2 separate regions of the Homo sapiens genome follow, and region 1 is linked to region 2. The links are contacts of gene promoters, found by promoter capture Hi-C in blood cells and fetal thymus (Javierre and others, 2016). All regions are on one chromosome and are shown on one strand. The core of a region is centred on a gene start or on the middle of the fragment in contact, and the rest is flanking DNA. Distances in the headings are between cores, read along the strand shown. Region 1 holds the start of TXNL4B (thioredoxin like 4B). Region 2 holds the start of VAC14 (VAC14 component of PIKFYVE complex).

Region 1 (6,430 bases), core at 3,142-5,641, 1.3 Mb before region 2:
GTAAAGGCCCCTCCATAGGAGAAAAACTCTGCCCTAAAACCTTTGGCTGTCCAAACAAGTGATCTGTCCTTTTCCACTTTCTCTCCCTGGGACGCAGGCTCACATATGGCAACAACCCAAGGCATTTCTAACCTCTACCATCTCGTCTTTATTCACCTTTGTTTTTCCCCACAAATTCCTACCTACCTTCAGTATTACAGAATCATAATAAAATCATAAAGCTCTAAATCTCCAACAGGAAAACTGAGAGATAAACATGAGCTGTTATTTTCCAGCCTCCGTTCGCTTCCCTCTGGGCTAACCCATACTAAGGCCTTTACCTGTCTTTCCGGATATTTTGGCCAGCCTGGTCACCGCCCTCTTCCTCAGCATCCTTCTGGTCATCCTTGCTCTCTTCCCAGTCCTTGTAGGAGGAGACTTTGGACTTCTTCTTGTCCTCCCCATCGTCCTTCTCCTCTCGCTCTCTCCGTTTCAGGGAAGCCAGCAAGTCCAGTCCGAGTAATGAAGGGCGGGGAGCAGGAGCCTTGAAGACATGCTGCTCGCTGGCCGCACTTTTGGACTTGCAAATAAGACCACCAACCTGACAGTCCAGATCAGTGCCTTCCAATCGATGGATCGAGGCATCCTCACTGGTGTCCCCCATCACAGGATCTGGGATTTCTCTGGAAGGAAGGCAAACCATTTGGTACTAGAGAAGGCTCAGCTCTACTATATCCCACAATAAATGCAGTTATGGTTATATGTAGGTGATTAACCTTCCCCATCTCCCCTTAAGACCAGGACTACTTTTGCTCCCTCTCTCCAAGACCTTTCCATCAAGTCACTGCCTATCTCCAAAGATTCTCCTATTCCAACCCCCAATAAACACCAAAATAGATACACACACACACACACACACACACACACCCCATACATTCCTCCCCAGCCCCCACAAAGATCCAAGAGGCAATAAAAAGTCTCACTAAGGGACACTTTCTAGAGCCTGATGTCAGCAGCTGTAACAGGGATGTAGGGAAAACACCACTAAATTTGAATCAGAAACCTCAATTAGAAACCAGGCTCTTGACACTTTCTACCTGTATGATGGTAAGCAAATAACTTAATCTTTGTTTAGCCATAATTTCATATCTATTAAATGGAAAAAATTTTTACCTTATCTAATCCATGAAGCTATTGTGAGAATCAAACAAAAAGTGTATGTGAAACCATAAAGAGTAGCTCTTTATGTAACCATAACAGTTAACATAAATGTAACTGCTACATTGTATTATTTGCTATCCTCCTATATACTGTTGGTCCCTCACCCATTTTTTTACATGAGTTCTACCTCTTCCTCTCTTTAAACAACAGGTACAGCAGCACAGAGATGGGGCAGAAGGCTACCGTCCATGTTCTCCATACTTTAGTGGCTTTTCTTGGCCTAGCTGCGTTTTACAGAAAACAATTTACTCACAGCAGCCAAAATCAGTTTAATAACAATCCATGTTCACCAAAAATATTTATGAGAAACACCAGGTTAGGAAAAGGTGTTACTGAGAAGTATTTAAGTGGCTACAAGACTTCTGGCACTCAAGTTGGAACAAGCTCCTCTTTACCTCTCACTACACATCTGCCACTCATCAACATATATCAGTTCTGGATGCTTGGATAATTCCTCTCATTCCAACAAGTTAGCAAAGCAAAGGAGATGCCACCAGAATCCAGAATTGTTTACCAAACTCTAATTAAATGCACAGCTCTACAGAGTATTGCCAAACAGACTGGACACATAATATTAATGCAGAAACAAGAGTTACATTTTGAAAATGCCATCAGGCAGAACAGAAAAAAAGAAAGCTGCATATTGGTGACATCTGTGCGCATGTGAGGAAATCCACACAAGAAGGTAAAGATATACAGGCTCTACTCAATAGTTGTCTAAACTAGGAAAGGTACCCTGGACTGCCATTCTACGCAGTTGAGAGAACACTGGATGTGTTGTTGACTGCTGTAGCTCAATGTCTAGCAAAATAAGCGTTTGATAAATTAAAAAATGAATTAATTTAAACTTATTAAAGGAGGACAGGAACCCAAACATTTCTGGAGACAGCAAGGGAAGATTCCAGCAACACAGGACAAGGAGACAGCCAGAGAGAACTTCATTAGCTGCTGAGACGAACAAATAAGGAGCTAAAGAGCAAGATTCTTGAGAAGGATTAATGGCAAAGAAACTACAAGGCGTACGAGAAAGCCAGGGAAGAAAGAACCTGGATTCATTCATTCAACAATTATTCACTGAGGGTGTCCCTGAGCCAATTGCTGTTCTCGGCGATAGCAACAGAGAACAAGACAAAAATCCCCGCCCACCTGGAGCTGACATTCTAGTAGAAGAGATCGCCCACCAGATTGCCTGGTATAAATGACACTGTGAGAGAGCAGAGGAAGACACAAGGAGTCCTACTCGGGCTCGGTGACAGTCTGGGGTGGGTTAAAGCGGAGGCCTGGGAGAGGGACCAAGGCCACTCCAGGCAGCATCCCTGGATCTCAGCGAGGCCGCTCCAGGCAGCAGGATTTGACCAGAGCAAGGAGGAAGGCCAAGGCGGCCAGGACGGATGCAGCATCCCTGAGGTGAGTAAGGCAAGGTGGGTGACAGGGACGACAGAGGAACTCCCCAAACTGGGGCCCGGACCTGAGCAGGGGACCAATATCCGCCGCCTAGAGCCGCCATGATTACAGAAGGGCAGGCCAGGAAGGAAGAAGGGACTCTCACCTCACCAAGCGCGACTCTTGGGACCCTTCTGTCCCGGATTCTGGGGCGCCGGCGCTGCCACCCCTCGCTCAGACAGGCTCAAGGAGCCAAAATCCACACCTTGAAAGCGGCCATTATTGTCCCTTAATACTTTGCGCGCCCCCTCTATCCGCCCAAAGCTACCATAGAGAGCAGCCTGGAACACGCCCGATTCCTGGATCCAAGTGTGGAACGGTACGCCAACAGGCTCTCAAGGCCTCCTCTGGGGCTCTGATCAGACACTTCCGAGTCTCCTTGTGACCAATCACTCTTAGCCTAAGAGACTACATCCCGCCTCTAGTCTGGGGGCAGGAAAAGGAGGGGAAAAAGGTCGACCATCTTTAATACGGGCGGAGGTGACGCCTAGCTTCCGGTCAGAGCCGAGCAAGGTGGGCGGTGACTAGAAGCTCTTCCGTTTATTGGGCTGTTGAGCGGGGGCCGACCGACGGCCAGGAGTTTCTTTTCTGCGCTTGTGCGTTTTCTGTTCGGTTTCCTTCCCGCTAGCGGGGCCACGAGGGTTGCTAGGCAACAGCCCCTGGGTGACTTGGTCTTAGGGTCCTGTCCGGCTTGGGGCTGATGAAAGGAGCTGTCCGCGCCCGGGCTCTTCCGAGAAGTGGTTGCTGACAGCCACAAAGTGAAAGGGAGTGAGGCGGCGTGGACGAGTAAGGTAAGTGCTGGGGTCCCTTAGCGCTTGTGGGCCAGGAGCAGCGCAACACAGGTGACTTTAAATATGTATATCGGATATTTTGGAAAATGGAGATGCGCGCCCGGCTGTAAATAAAAATCACCCATGCGTTCACACGCAGAGATGACCACTGATTTCCAGTTGTTTTTCTGGAATACATTGTAGTAAGATTCTGTACAAAAGTGAGTTCAAGCTTTTTTTCTTTTTTTGGTGTTTCTGCAGTTGTGGCGCGCGCCTGAGGTTCCAGCTACTCGGGAGGCTGAGGCGGGAGGATTGCTTGAGCCTGGGGAGTTGAGACCAGCCTGGGCAACATAGCGAAACCCCGCCTCAGAAAAAGAGAGGGAGAGAGGAAAGCAGTGGAGTTATTGGTCAAAGAGTATGTCAGTTTTCTTTCCAGAAAGGTTTTGTGTCTGCATTCCAGCAGGAACTCCCTGTGCCTGCCCCTACCACTATCTTGTTTAATTTTTGCCAATTCAGTGACTTTGTAAACATATGTTTTAATTTGCTTTTCTTTGCTTACTGGTAAAGCTTAACTTTTTAGTTTATTTACTGTCCATTTGTACGTCTTCTTTTGGGAATTCTCTGTGGGTATCATTTACTATGGACATTTTCTTAGATGTGGTCTCAGTTTTCCTCTCCTGCTTCCAACGTTTGTCCAGTTGCACCCCTAGCCTCACCACTAACAACTTTGTTCTCCCCTTACTTTCTCCTTTCGATCAGTAACACGGAGGAACTGCTGTTTGTTTGAATTCTAGTGGGACAGATCCGTCTTCTCTTTGACCTTCCCTTTCATTGGTAATTTGTTCTGCTGCTCACATCTGATGACGTCCCTTTGGGCCATCAATGTCCCTGTTTAAAGTATGACCTATAGCTGGAACAATCTTATTTCCTATGTGAATTTTAGTTAAATAATTCCTTTTTTTTTTTTTGGAGACGGAGCTTCGCTCTTGTTGCCTTGCCCAGGCTGGAGTGCAGTGGAGCGATCCTAGCTCACTGCAACCTCCGCCTCCAGGGTTCAAGCAATTCTCCTGCCTCAGCCTCCTGAGTAGCTTGGATTACAGGTGGCATCTGCCACCACGCCCGGCTAATTTTTTGTATTTTTAGTAGAGACGGGGTTTCACCATGTTGGCCAGGCTGGTCTCGAATTCCTGGCCATAGGTGATCCACCCTCCTTGGCCTCCCAAAGTGCTGGGATTACAGGGGTGAGCCTGGCCTAATTCGTATCTTAAAATGTGACTTGTGACAAAAAAAATAGGAAAAGAAATCCTCCCTTTTCATATTTGGAACTGAATTCAAAATACCGACCATCTCAATGGAGTCTCTTATAGATGACCACAAAACTAAGCTTCTTTGTCAAAGAGTTTCTCAAAAATGAAATTTCTACCAATCATGAAAATAGATTATTGTAGTAGAAGGACCCCTGGACTAGAAATTTGGTGGCCTGTATTCTAGTCCTTGTCATTGTAGTAGAAAGTGCAACTGTAAGCAAGCTAGTTTGTAAAATGACGGGGTTGTATTAGGTCCCTTGTACCTCAGTATTTTATTATTTGTTTATGGTATTGTAGTTTTCACACACACTCTTAATTGATCTGTTTGCCGTGTAATGAGGTGCACCTAGTAAGGTGCACACGAAGAATCTTTAAGCCAGGACTTGTAATAATATAAAGTATACAATAAAGGACTGTTTAAAAAGTGTAACACATGCAAGAAATAATATGCTGCCATGACAGAGAATATGGATGTTCTCTATATAGAGATATGGGGCAATCTTCATAGGTTAGGTTTGAAATAATGAAAAGTGCTGAAGAGTAGATAAAGTGTGTGTGCTGAACATCTGCCATTGGTCCCTCCACAGCCATTCTTCATCCTCCTCTAGACTGCTCTGGGACAGGGAGGTTTGCCTGCCTCAACAGGCCCCTGCCCTCTGGTTCCAGTTGGAGTCAGCCGGTGGTTGCATGAGCAAAGGTCAGAGGGAGGGAGGAGAGTGGCTGCAACACCTAACAGCAGGCTGCCCTCCTATACACTGTCCTCTCCACTCACCTCTTTCTGCCACACAATTCTTATAACTGCTTCCTACCGTGGCTTCTTCCTCCCATGGCCTAGGGATGGGTACAGCATCCCGCTGTTACTAGCCCCAAAGTAGTACACTTTACCGTATTGTTTTTCTACACCTGCCTTAATTAAACTGCCTTCAAATTACCAAAGTTGAGAGTGTCATCGCTTTCCTGCTGGAACACTGATACAATAGGCTATCTTTTGGGGGTGGGGAGAGAGAGAAAAAAAATATCGGAACGCATATTTGTATTTTTTGGTGAATGCATAACAAAACTCTGAAAGATACATGAGAAACTAATGAAAGCAGTTATCTGGCCCGGGGGAGGGAACAATGAAAACTGGTTCCAAGGAGCAGGGACAAAGAGAGGGAAACTCCACAGTGTTACCTTTCTATGATGTTTCTTTCATACCATGTGAATACATTAGCTACTCTGTGAATTAATTTTTTTTAATGAGGGCTCACGCACTTAATCTAAACTGTCTTTAAACATTGCACCTTTATTTCAGGAGTGACAGTGAGGATTCACATTTGGGTTATTTCAAGATGAGCTTCCTACTGCCCAAGCTGACTAGCAAAAAGGAAGTAGACCAGGCGATAAAAAGTACTGCTGAGAAGGTGTTGGTTCTCAGGTTTGGGAGAGATGAAGATCCTGTCTGTCTGCAGCTAGATGATATTGTAAGTGAATGTCTAAAATAATTGGTTTTTATTAATAATCTGTATATTCTCACTTCAGCATCTGAGTAGTACATGAGAGGGAGTAGTCAGGGTTGGGTATATAGCTGTTCATTTGTTAGTTCACTAAGAGCTGATTGTGTGCCTGCCCTGAACCAAGCCCCCAAATCTGTGTGTGCTGAATCTGTCTTGGATGTCCTTACCCACTAGAAGCTGTCAATGCTGTTTCACCAACAAGGTGATGGAAGAG
Region 2 (6,208 bases), core at 3,316-5,815:
TTTCACAATGGTTAAGTGAGCAAAGATCGCTCTGACCAATAATCTGAGAGGATGCTAAGATCAATGAGCAAGAGTGATGACTTGCAAATATACAGCATCTGTATAAAGTCAGTGCTTCTGAAATATTAGTATACATCAGCATCCCCTGGAGGGCTTACTGAAACAGATTGCTGAGCCCCACCCTCAGGAAGTCCGATCTAGGAGATTTGGGTGGGGCTTGAGAATCTGCATTTCTAACCAGTTCTTGGTGATGCTCGTTGGTGAGACCAATCAGACTGTGAGAACCACGACTCTAAAGCCTCGAGCCTCCTGGTTATTCGGAGTGGCCTATGGACCTGCAGCATCAGCATCACCTGGGAATTTGTTAGAAAGGCAGGCCCTCAGGCCCCACCCTAGACTTGTTGAATCAGAATCTGCATTTTCATGGACCTCCAGGCGATTTGCATGCACATTGCAGCTGAGAGTGCTACTTTAAGGTACCTGGCAAAACTTGACATTTGCCAAACCCACAGCCATAACTCTTTCATTACAGTCCTGAGAAGTCTTACCAAATCTGCATAGGACCTAGTTGATGAAATTAACCCTCCCCAAAATGTGCCTCCTTCCACCTATTCACCAGAGGTATAGGTTAGGAGAAGGGAAGCAATTGGTCCCTCACCCTACTCTTCAAAAGGGTGTACTTTTTCAATAATGGTCAATGTGGTACACCAAGTGATCCCTAAGACTAAAGAAAAGGTGGAAGAAGCTGTCTGAAATCTTGTCTAACATGCCACCAGCCCCAGCATGGCTTATAGCCAGCCTTGGGGTGGCTAGGGGCAACTCCCCCAACTTCAGACCTGTTCCAGTGCTTCCCCAAGCCACTGAAGCTGTCCATATACATTTTATAAAAGTGATCAGGGAGAAGGGAGGGGGAGAAACAAAAACGAACCCAGGTTGCAGCACACTCAGCATTAATCACTAGATCAGCCTGCGCTCAGACCTGCTTCCTCATAGCTGTTTGGTGCCTGCTGTTTCAGAATCACGTAGACCCTGCTAAAGATCATAGTTCCCCTCAATGCTCTGGAGATAACAACTTGAACATTAGGAAACGTTAAGTTTTCCGTTTGAGATATTTATTCTTGGTCCTGTGTACCAGTGAAACAACTGACATCAGCTGATCTGAAGGACCTCACGAGAAGCTGATTCACCAAAGAATGCGGTTTCCACATCCTGATGATTTCATCCGTCTTACCCAACCAATCAGTCACCTGGTTTTTCAGCCCTTCACCCTCCAGGATCCCCTTAAAAACCCCAGTCCAGAACTCTTCCGGGAGATGGATTTGAGGGTCTCCTCCCATCTCATCACTCAGTGACCTTTGATCATCACTTTCTCTGCTGCATCCCCACTGTCTCTGTGCATTGGTCTGTTACTGCACAGTGGGCACACAAACGTGTTGGTCCTATAACACCACTGAGTCTAGGGTCCAAATCCTCCTAGCCCCTGAGAGAGGAGGAAGTTCCTTCTCCCTGGGACCAAGAGCCAAGCTCAGATCCTGCCCCAGTGTGAACCCTCTTCCAGGCTGGTTTGAGATTGGGTGCATTTCTTCCCTTTAGGTTTTTCTCGTGCTTCCTTAGCCTCAAACAATAACAAAATAGTCTTATATTAGCAAATTTGGAATGGCAAAGTAGCTTAACAGCAGGCTTGATGAAAATAACCCTTCCAACACATGCTTGTGGAAGTTACATTGGAGAATCCATTCTCAGCAAAGCAGACCAGGAGACTTCTAACTGGGGGATGTTCAGAAAATGTCAGGGTAGCTGTGTGGCAGAACTCCAAGGAGCACTGTGCACAGAATACCATGGGAATGGGGCTCCCTGGCCTCGTTCCACACTGGGCCCCCAGTGAGTGTGGCATGCTAAGTCTAACCACTTCTTTAGGAGCCTCAAGTCAGAGGTGACAATACTGTAACATTGGTGAGGGCCTGCTACATTTCAAGACCTCTACCTAATACCTTAAACCCTGTTGCCCTGAAACTCCAGCTACAATTACATTGCTGTTGGAGAAACTGCTTTGCACAGTTCAAGATTTTGGTACAATTTCTTACAATGTCATCAGCAGCCTCTTGCTACAAGTTATGTCATAACTTTTACATACTTGTAATAGCTATTATGAATAGTTGTTACAGAACTATTACAAGTTCTAGCATAACAACCAAGCATCACACAGATGCAGATGAATTGTAACTGTGAAATAATGACTAGTATGCAGTCAGGCACATCAGTTATCCCCTAGTCTAGAAGAGTTTCAACAGGAATGGTCACAGGTCAGAGAAGAGGAACAAGGGTGGAAGGCAAGGGTAGCCTTTGGGCTTTATTTTTACCACCACTGCTAGCTCAATTATGCATAAATAATCTTACCTAGTTGGCATTTTTCAAGATATTAGAGAAAAGAACCACTTCTTTCTAGGAACTTCTGACCTAAAGGTAGGCATTGGTCTGGGCCTTGAATAAAAAACTGGTTACTTAGCAACCTGAGCCAGAATATAATTTCAGGAGAAAAGAATACTTCTGGTAAAAAAAAAATTCCTTATTGTTTGAATTATTAAAAACTGTATCATTACCCTTGGGAAATTCAGTTCACCTCTAAGAAAAAGCCAAACCAAAAAGCAAAAGAAACATGAAATATATTAGATATGCGTCCCGTGGAAATGCACACACATTGGAGAAATAGAACCAAATCATTCCCATTGATTTACATTTTTTCAGTGTTTTTCATCAACCATCATCAAAATCCTAAAACCAAACTTTGCAAGACATTTGGAGATGTCCTTGGCAGCACTACTACTACTTGTTAGCGCACCTACCTTCATTCATAGGATTGTGTCAGCAAAGGTTTTAACAACTATGAAAACCCCACCTGTATAGGAGAATACATTTTTTATGGATTTTTCTAGACATGATATATCCATGACTTGCCGAGTTTTGGATTAGCCTTTGTATTCATTTTCTATGGCTGCATAACAAATTACCACAAAACTAGGAGAGCAAAACAACACAAATTTATTATCTCACAGTTTCCATGGGTTGAGAGCCCAGTGTGAACTGGATTCTCAGCTCAGGGTTCCACAAGGCTGAAATCAAGGTGCTGGCCAGCTGCATCCTCATCAGGAGGCTCAACTAGGGAAAGATCTGCTTCCAAGGACCCTCAATGTGTTGGCAAAATTCATTCCTTTGTGGCCATATGACTAAACTCCTTACAGGAGAGTCTCTCTTCCAGTTCAAATTTCTTCTAATCTCTTTTAAGTACTCACTTGATTCGGTCAGGCCGACTCAAGTTAATCTCTCTTTTTATTAATTCAATGTCTGCTGATTAGGGACCTTAATTACATCTGCAAAATCTCTTCTGCGATATTACATAATATAATCATGTGAGTGATGCATAGCCCATCATATTTACAAGTCTTGTTCACGCTGAAAGAGGGCATAATACAGGGCATGAACACGAAGGGGTGGGAATATTGGAGGTCATCCTAGAATTCTGCCTACTTTTGCCCTTTACTCATTGCGTCCCTGTTTCTGTTGAGGAAAATACTCCATTTTCAAGACTGTTATAAGGCCTATATATGCACTTTTCATTCATTAAAGAAAAGTATCACCATGCATTCTGAAACTGTTATTCTTTGAGCTCCACTGTAATCTAGCCCTTGTCCTAAGTCCCTGTTCACTCTGAAAGCTTATGATAGGAAAGGCTGATGCACCTCCCTGTTAACTGCATGTTTACCACACTCCGGCCATAAATTGCTTTTAAATATTTTGCCACATAGTTGGGATTTCTGTCTCACCATGTAATGTGATTCCCGAAGCAGCTGAAGGGGCTGCTTTCCAGGGGACCTATCTAGAGACCCGCACTCAGCAGATCTGGGGCCTTTCTCTCTGTCTGTAACCAGCCCTCCTAGGCATCAGAGCATGTTAAACACACCCCCAAATGGTGGAGTGACAGACACTGGTGGTACCTGAGATCTTAGGTGGTAGACAGGTAGTGCCATTTTTAATTGAGAATTTATTTTGATGTGTCTTAGAAAAAATATACCTATTCAAACTCATGGTTTTAGGGCATAAGCAAAGCTAAAAGAGATTTAAGGTATTTTTTAAAGTGAGTTGATTTGAGGAAAACATTAAATAGATAATACAAGTGGCTAGAATATGGTGAAAGTGATGACAGTGTTACTGCAGTTAGGGAAACGTCTGCATCTAGGAAATTGGTAAGTGACCAACTACTGAATGAACTAGTGAATTCGGTGACTATTGAATAAATTATGTTAAGTGAATCAGACTCCAAGAACCCATTCGGTCTTACGAACGTCTACAGAAGCCCACCACGTGCCATCAGTTGGGCGTGAGCTACACACCCATTAAAGCACGTCTCAAACCACACTCCAGCTACCTGGCGCGCAGCGCGATAGTGTGTGCAGTGTGGGTGGAGCCTTCCGAGGGCGTGGCCAATCCACCTGCGGCCTGCGGTGGGGGCGTGGCTGGAGAGGGGCGGGCCCTCGCGACGGAAGGCGGAAGTGCTGTAGAGTCATGTGACTCGAGTAACATGGCCGCTGTCTCGTGAGTCCCGCTAGTGCCGGGCGGGAGTTGTTAAGCGGCCAGGGTCAGGTGTGCTGGAGCGGGGTCCGGGCCCGGGTTCCAGGGCGAGGCGGCGGAGCGTGGCAGGCAAGCCTAGAGCGGCGTGGTCCATGCGCCGGCGCCGGGGGCAGAGCGGAGCCGCAGACTCCCCTGGCCCCGGCGCGGCCCCGGCAGCCGCGGGCTAAGGAGTCGCGAGGTTCCCCCAGCTGCCACCATGAACCCCGAGAAGGATTTCGCGCCGCTCACGCCTAACATCGTGCGCGCCCTCAATGACAAGCTGTACGAAAAGCGGAAGGTGGCAGCGCTGGAGATCGAGAAGTAAGAGCCGCCAGGACCCCTCCCTGGCTATGCAGCCCCTGACTGCTCTGCTCCCCAGGGGGACTTCTCACGCCTTCCCAGCCAGGGTTACTTTCCCAGGTTTTAGGCCCTTACCTTAGCGCAGTGTTTAAGAGCAGATTGGGAGCCATATCTGGGAGTCCCTGCTTTACTCCTGACTGGCTGTGTGATTTGGTCCCAGCTTTTTAACCTCCCGGTGCCACAAAGGGCTGCAGTGAGAATGAAGTGACATCATGTATGGGTAGTGCTTTGCACAGTGCATGGCACATGGTGAGTCTTCGGTGCGGTGCCACCCAAACCAGCAAATCAGAGAGTTGTCTCTGTGGTGAGAGAGAAGTCAGAAGCCGGAGAATTTGCAGGTGATGCTGACCAGCCTGGTTTCTTACCCAGCTTCTGAGAAGTGAAGGAGATTGTTAGTGACCAAGTAGAGAAATCAGGTCGGAAAACTCGTGATCTCAAGGCTCAGAGAGTTTTTTGTTTTATCTGTGTTATAACACCCTTCCCTGCAAGTGGAAGTAGAAATAATTTGACCTTTCTTGCTTCTGCAGTCTTGTTACATGTATGTGTAACAATGATCTGATATTTTACTTTATTTCCCAATGTACAAAACAGCGAAAGTTTAACTGGGGATGTTTTATTTATTTTTTTTTCTGCAGTATTATTTTACTTTTGTGGGTTTTTTCCCAGTCACATTTTAGTGTTAAAGTCAAGTGAGTGAGTGATTTCAGAAAATTGGAAAGAAGCAGGCTGTGAAACTGGAAGAATACCAGTCTGCGAGTCAGAAAAGGTGAATTGTATTTCTGTTCTGTCCAGTAGAGTAGCCGTTGGCCGTGCGTAGCTATTATAAATTTAAATTATTAAAGATTAAACTTTAGTTTCTCAGTCACACTACCCGTATTTCAAGTGTTCAATAGCCACATGTAGCTATTGGCTGCTATATAGGGCAGCACAGATTATAGACTGTTTCCATCATTGCAGAATGCTCTATTGGACTGCTCTAATCTATTCCGTGGTGTGACATTCATTCGTTAACCTGGGGCAAATTCCTTAACTCAGGGTTTCTCAGCCTCTGCACCATTCACATTTTGGGGCAGATGATTTTTGGTTGTAGTGGGCTGTCCTGTGCCTTGCAGGATTTTTAACAGCGTCTCTGACCTCTTCCCACTGGATGCCAGTAGCACTCCATCCGTTGTAACAATCAAAAATGTCTTCAGACATTGCTAAATGTCCCCTGAAGGAGCAAAATTGCCCCGGTTGACAACTG

What was found. The method cuts DNA at HindIII sites, captures the fragments that hold promoters and counts their contacts. A CHiCAGO score of 5 or more calls a contact.
Region 1: a fragment that was not itself captured here is called in contact with the fragment with the promoter of VAC14 in region 2 in 5 of 17 cell types (naive CD8 T cells, total CD4 T cells, total B cells and 2 more); the score reaches 7.5 in naive CD8 T cells.

What each region holds. Positions count from the first base shown.
Region 1 is chr16:72,090,371-72,096,800 of GRCh38, reverse strand. TXNL4B (thioredoxin like 4B) reads left to right here and starts at 3,181. Exons shown (of 4, transcript NM_017853.3): 1 at 3,181-3,434; 2 at 6,015-6,183. The coding sequence starts at 6,052. DHX38 (DEAH-box helicase 38) reads right to left here and starts at 2,954. Exons shown (of 27, transcript NM_014003.4): 1 at 2,750-2,954; 2 at 321-662. The coding sequence starts at 643. RefSeq lists enhancers at 2,659-2,958, 3,019-3,068, 3,079-3,408. The HindIII fragment of the contact is 817 bases long and covers 3,983-4,799 here.
Region 2 is chr16:70,799,515-70,805,722 of GRCh38, reverse strand. It overlaps VAC14 (VAC14 component of PIKFYVE complex), which reads left to right and starts at 4,565. Exons shown (of 19, transcript NM_018052.5): 1 at 4,565-4,926. The coding sequence starts at 4,823. HYDIN (HYDIN axonemal central pair apparatus protein) reads left to right here. Exons shown (of 86, transcript NM_001270974.2): 86 at 1-3,639. RefSeq lists enhancers at 4,530-4,589, 4,257-4,879 and a silencer at 4,670-4,859. The HindIII fragment of the contact is 5,317 bases long and covers 3,715-6,208 here.